Linked DNA regions of Homo sapiens: region 1 is linked to region 2. The links are contacts of gene promoters, found by promoter capture Hi-C in blood cells and fetal thymus (Javierre and others, 2016). All regions are on one chromosome and are shown on one strand. The core of a region is centred on a gene start or on the middle of the fragment in contact, and the rest is flanking DNA. Distances in the headings are between cores, read along the strand shown.

Region 1 (2,934 bases), core at 230-2,729, 960 kb before region 2:
TTAGAGACGAGGGCAGCAGGGAAAAGCCAGGAAGTCCTCCTGCAGCCACTCAGGACAGAAACAGGCGGCCAACCAGCGGTTTCATTTCATGTTCTCAGAAACCAGGTTAATCTGTTGTGAAATTTCTTATTTTGATATTCAACAAATACCTGTACATAAAGAGAGGAACATTCTTTTTGTCCTGGAACTGGAATTTGCCATCTAGGCTGGGCTCCTTCATCTTTCTCAGTATCTCTAGGGCAGTGGTTTTCAACTTTATCACCACCGCCCCAGGAAAAACCACATTTCTCATTGCGAGCCATACACATCAGATAGGTAGGTGTGTGTGTGTGTGTGTGTGTGTGTGTGTGTGTATTTCAACATATCCATATGGATATAGAGAGATAAAACAAGGGCTTCACAAAACAAATCCTCCCTTTCACTTGCTGTACACTCTGTTTTTCTTATTATATTTTAGTCTAGCATTTTGTTGACTTCCTTTTACATGCCAGTCAATTCTACTGAGTTCATTTTACATCCAAAAATGAGTTGTCACTAGCCATTTGGAAAACACTGGTCTCTAGGACCACGACTGGGCTTGTATCCACGTCCCTATTCACATACACAGCACACACACATACACATGACACACACACACCACACACACTTCACATACACATCCCACATATATCACACATACCATGTATATCACACACACACACCCCATGTACACAAACACATACAACCCTTATTCTATCCTGTCAGAGCCTCAGAAGAAACCACACAGGCCCCAGTCACCAGGATGAGGCACATGGTCCCTGAGCCAGGGTTTGTCTCACAAGAAGGAGGAGTTTTAAGTGCCTTACTTGGTTCCTCCTGCTGCGATCGTCAGTTCAGGGGACCACCACAGACCCGGGTTTGCTTTCCAGCAGCCCCTGAGAGCTGCTGCACTGTGAGTTTTGTGTGGTGCGTGCTGGGATGGGAATTAGGATGTGAACTCCAAGGTCCCAAAATGAAATCCTGAGCAGACATGGGGGCACTGGAAATCAATAAAAAGCGCTACATCTAGTTGTGGCTTCACATTTTTAGACAGAGTAACACATAACATCCAAATGGTCCAGGCTTTCTGAAGTGTCCGATTTTTACACGTTTTGCTCTCTTGTCCCCATGTGTACTTGTCAAACCAAATGTCAACTTACTTTTTGGTTTGGGAAATGTGGTTAGAGAGCCATACAAAGGTGCAGTATTTTAACCCAAGCGTCCCTGTGGAATGACCTGCTGTAGGGTAATGAGAAAGAGAGAGAACCGGAAGGAACAAAGAAGATGAGCCGGCAAGTAGCCAAGAAGGCACAGGCCACAGGACAGTTTGGGGCTTTTCTGTTTTGTTTTCAAATTAAGCTTCACCCAAAAGGGGTGGGGGTAGAAATGTGAGCTTTCCACCAACACGTTTCTAACTAGAAGCAAACACTGATACAACCACTCTTGCCGGGTTGTAATCAAATTCCGAAGGAGAACTGTTACCATGAGAAGGAAAACAGAAGCACAGATTTGAACAAGTGGAGGATAAAAATCCCTATGGTGTCCGTTTCTTCTTATTCTTACGAAGCTTGACCTGGGCAAAATGAATGCATGATGTAGACACTGGGGCAGCCTAAGCCTAAGACTCGGTGGGGAGGGCATGACTCGAAGGAGTCCCAAGGGGCACCTCTGAGGGGCCAGGAATGAGCGTGGCACCTGTGTCCCCCAGCTCAGGACTCTCCCTGTGTCCTGGAAAACTCCTCAGTCCAGGCCAGAGCAGAGCGCTTGGCCACCCACTCAGAAAACCCCGTTTCTGCCAGGAACATAGGATATGTTCAGCGTGTGACAGCTCCTCAAGCTGCATGCGTGTGCCTGCGCGTAACACCTCCATGAAACATGTGGGAAGCCCCAATGCACACGCGGCAGACTCGAGCGTACCTGTGCCTGCAGCTCCACTCTCTGCGCCTGCAGGTGGGAGAGCACCTCCCGGCCCTCCTCCAGCTGACTCCGCAGGGCGGCCACCTCCCGCTCCGTCAGGAGCTTCTCCTGCACAGAGAAGGCCAGAGTCAGACTCATGGGACATGCAGAGAGGAAAAGGGCAGAGAAGGTGCGGGGCCCTGGTATGGACGGAATATCCGTGTCCCCCTGAATTCTGTGTTGAAGCCCTAACTAACTCCCAAGATGAAGGTTTTAGGAGACCTTTGGAAGGTGTTAGGGTTAGATGAGGTCATGAGGATGGGGGGCCCCATCATGTGATTAGGGTCTTTGTAAGAACAAGAAGAGACACCAGAGCCCCCACCCCCACCCCCTGTCTGTCTGTCACGTGAGACACAGCAAGAAGGCAGCCGTCTTCAAGCCAGAAAGAGAGCCCTCACCAGACACCAATTCTGCTGGCATCTTGATCTTGGACTTCCAGCACCCAGGACAGTGAGAAGTAAATGTCTGCCTGTCGGCCCTCCCATCTGTAGTGTCCTGTTATAGTAGCCTGAGAAGACTAAGCCAGGCCCACAGCACAGCCATCAATGCCTTTTGCTTTGTCTTCAAAGTCTGAACCTCCTTGGGAGTGTGACATGCCGGGACCAAGTACCAGGAGACCAGAGCTTAGACCTGGCTGTGCCATGAACCTACTAAGAGACTCTAGAAAAGGATTTGACTCTCAAAGCCTCTGTTTTCCCTTCTGTGAAAGGGAAAACCTGGAATGCACACTCTCGAAGAAAATGAAGGCTGGTTGGAGCCGCGAGCCATACGCTGTGCTCGGATGTCAGCGCAGCACAAAGCAGGAGCCATCAGCCCCAGTGGGTGAAAGGGAAGTGACGCTCCAGGGAATGGCTAGAAGGAAATCCTCTGACCTCTCCACACTCTGCCAAGCAGGTCCCTCTCTCCTGACCTGCCTTTCCACGTCTATTCAAAAATATTCAAATTGTTTCACAAAGGCCT
Region 2 (2,877 bases), core at 378-2,877:
CCAATGTACACAAAAGCTGAAGAGCAGCACTTAATTTAAATGCAGCAAAACTAGTTAAAACGAGAGAATACTGTTAACATGGCACTACAAATATTATTCCCTTTTTAATTGAAATAATAATTACATTTCATCTGTATTTGCTGTTGAGGTCTTGTGTGGGGTTTTGATTATCTAAATACCTCACTTCTGCGAAAGGAGCATGAATGAATGAGATGGGGAAAAGAAAGAAGTTACTTTAAAAGGACAAATTAAATGAGTAAGGCAAAACAGAGACTATCACTAACGCTCTGACTTGAGTTCCCTGTAAATCATTATCGCCTTTTCCTGCCTCTGGTGTGTGTCAGCTCTCTTGGCTTCAGGGCAAGTCATCATACAAGGGGAACAGAAGTAATTCTGTGTGTACCACAAAATGTTAGTTAGAGCTAACTTTTTTGGGAAAGCTCCGGGTTCACAGCCTTGCCATTATCACCAGAGCAGTTCTAGTATTTGAAAGCTGCAAAGACACTTTAGAAGGACTGCAGAGTACTACTTCTCAGTGGAAAGGAAGTTTGCAAGAATATAAACAGTGACCAATAAACACAAGCCTCCCGTTTCATCTACTGTATTTATAAATCCTGGTATTAATAATTAACTACCAGTATGAAAGCCTTACTGGTCTTTTTGGAGGTGAGGGTGGGGAGGAAGGTTGTCATAATTAATGCACAGAAGGTTTCAGGGGGAAAAAACGCTCACCTTAACACAACAACCATTTACATCTCTGTATTGCCTTTTCAAATTTCATTAATAATCCATAGATTTTGCCCAATTATAATCTACATATTCATTCCATTTTTATAGTCTACTTCTTGCATTCTCACTGTATTATTTAGTTTTCCCTGTACTTATTTATCCATTTGTGGCTGGGCATTTAGGCTATTTCTAGTTTCTTTTTAGTTTTGCCTGTTGCAGTTCTAATAATGCTGATCTGAACATGTCTGCAGTTTGAGCTTTGTCACAGACTGTATTCTCAAAAATGGGGTACCTAAATTTAAGGGGTGAACTTAATGCCTTGTTGGATAGTTCCGGATCTAGGGCCAAGAATATAAACTACAGATACTGACAGCACAACAATAGCTCCTACGGGAGTGTGGCTGGACTTGAGACTTGCCCATAGTCGCATTTCCATTTAAGTGAAAGGCAGATAAAATAAAAGTAGTTGAAAAATTCTAAATAAAAAATATGTAGGAGAGGAAGTAATTCGCGAGCGTCAACTAGCAGCTGCCCTTAGGAAGCTGGGGTGGCCAGTGGGCCCCACGCAAAGGGAATCAAGAAAAAAGGCGGATCCGCCAGGCCCAAATGGCAACGTGCAGTCAACAGGATCCCCAGACCCCTCAACTCTCCCAACGTGGACCGCCCCCTCGCAGCCCGGATCCGGAATCCCGTTTGGTTGTTCCCGCCCATCAGGGGCTGCCAAGGACACCTGCATCCTTTCGGCTGGAGTAAGGGAAGCTCTTCCCCTCCTCTAGCCGCCCTCCTCTTCCTCTAACCGCGGGGCCCGGGATCGGGACCCCTAATGCATCTCTGCCGCGCCCAACCCAGTCGCCAGCCTCTCACCGCCTCTTGCCTCCTCCTTCGCCGCCGCCCGGGTTACCACAGACGCGGCGAGCCGCGCCCCGCCCACTGGGTGCTGGGCAGATGATTGGTGGAGACTCAGCTTCTTAGCAACTAGACCGGCCCCTGCCGCTCCGCAGGGAGCCTGGTACCCGCCTGGAGTTCCTTTCCCAGTGCTTTCCCATAGGCATCTAAGAATATTCCTTCACAGAGTTGCCAAGTGCTAAAAGTTGGTTTCCCAACTCAGAATGAAGGAACCAGGCTTGTGCGTCCGATGGGCATTGACATTCTGGAAAACAAGAATAAGAAGCTGTAGCGGCGCCTGTAAGTGGGCCGGAGCAGGCGCAGCTTGGCCACCTCCCGCCGAAAGGCAAGGAAGGACCGGCTGCGACACGAGGAAGAAGGCCCCTCGGCCTCAGCAGAGCGCTATCCTCCACTGGTTCCCCGGGTTCCCCGGCTTGCTACCGGGCTGCTCCGTGCATCTTTCCCCCCAGGCGTCAGGAACTGCGCCCTCATGGCGGAGGTGAAGGTGAAGGTGCAGCCGCCTGACGCGGATCCGGTCGAAATAGAAAACAGGTAAACCAGTGAGGCTCCGGCTTGGCACTCCATCAGGCGCCCAGTCATTTGGGCAGCTGGACCCCTTCTCCGGGATCCCTTGGGAGTGGCCGGAGCGGGTTAGGTGAGCACGCGGGAAAAACGATTGCGGGGTTCTGGACCCACTTGTTCCTTCCCATCCTGGGAGAGCAGAACTCAAGAAGTTCAAAATGGGTTTGACAGCTTGCAACTTTGTGTAGCTGGCTGGCTTTGCCCTGATACTTTTGGGGAAGTTGTGATGACGTGCTGCCTTCCTACTTTGACGCGATCAGTGCTTTGAGAGGAGCCCTCGGCTTTCTTTCCCTGTAGAACACTTGTGAATACATGTTCTGATCCAGGATCGCTCTTGTCACTAAGGGAACGTCTATGACAAAACGTTTAGGCGGAGTTAGGGCGCAGTTGGTGATTACGAAGTAACATTAAGCCAGGTGGTTTCAGTGCAGTATTGAACTCAAGACTTTTAGGACACCCAAAGCCTCTGCCACTTTTATTTTTATTTGTTTGTTTGTGAGACAGAGTCTCGCTCTGTCGCCAGGCTGGAGTGCAGTGGCGCGATCTCGGTTCACTGCAATCTCCGCCTCCCGGGTTCAAGCGATTCCCCTGCCTTAGCCTCCCGAGTAGCTGGGACTACAGGCTCGCGCCACCACGCCCAGCTAATTTTTTATGTTTTAGTAGAGACGGGGTTTCACCATG

Evidence for each region. Contacts are between HindIII fragments. The CHiCAGO score rates a contact against its expected background, and 5 or more counts as called.
Region 1: a contact is called between a fragment that was not itself captured here and the fragment with the promoter of DZANK1 in region 2, in 1 of 17 cell types (total B cells). The highest score is 7.6, in total B cells.

The regions. Positions count from the first base shown.
Region 1 is chr20:17,506,954-17,509,887 of GRCh38, forward strand. It overlaps BFSP1 (beaded filament structural protein 1), which reads right to left. Exons shown (of 8, transcript NM_001195.5): 5 at 1,936-2,043. Among named protein-coding and RNA genes, the nearest start is that of BFSP1, 23 kb to the right of the region's middle. The HindIII fragment of the contact is 208 bases long and covers 1,376-1,583 here.
Region 2 is chr20:18,465,403-18,468,279 of GRCh38, forward strand. DZANK1 (double zinc ribbon and ankyrin repeat domains 1) reads right to left here and starts at 1,628. Exons shown (of 21, transcript NM_001367614.1): 1 at 1,594-1,628. POLR3F (RNA polymerase III subunit F) reads left to right here and starts at 1,988. Exons shown (of 9, transcript NM_006466.4): 1 at 1,988-2,166. The coding sequence starts at 2,105. RefSeq lists enhancers at 1,508-2,126, 1,749-2,068. The HindIII fragment of the contact is 20,751 bases long and covers 1-2,877 here.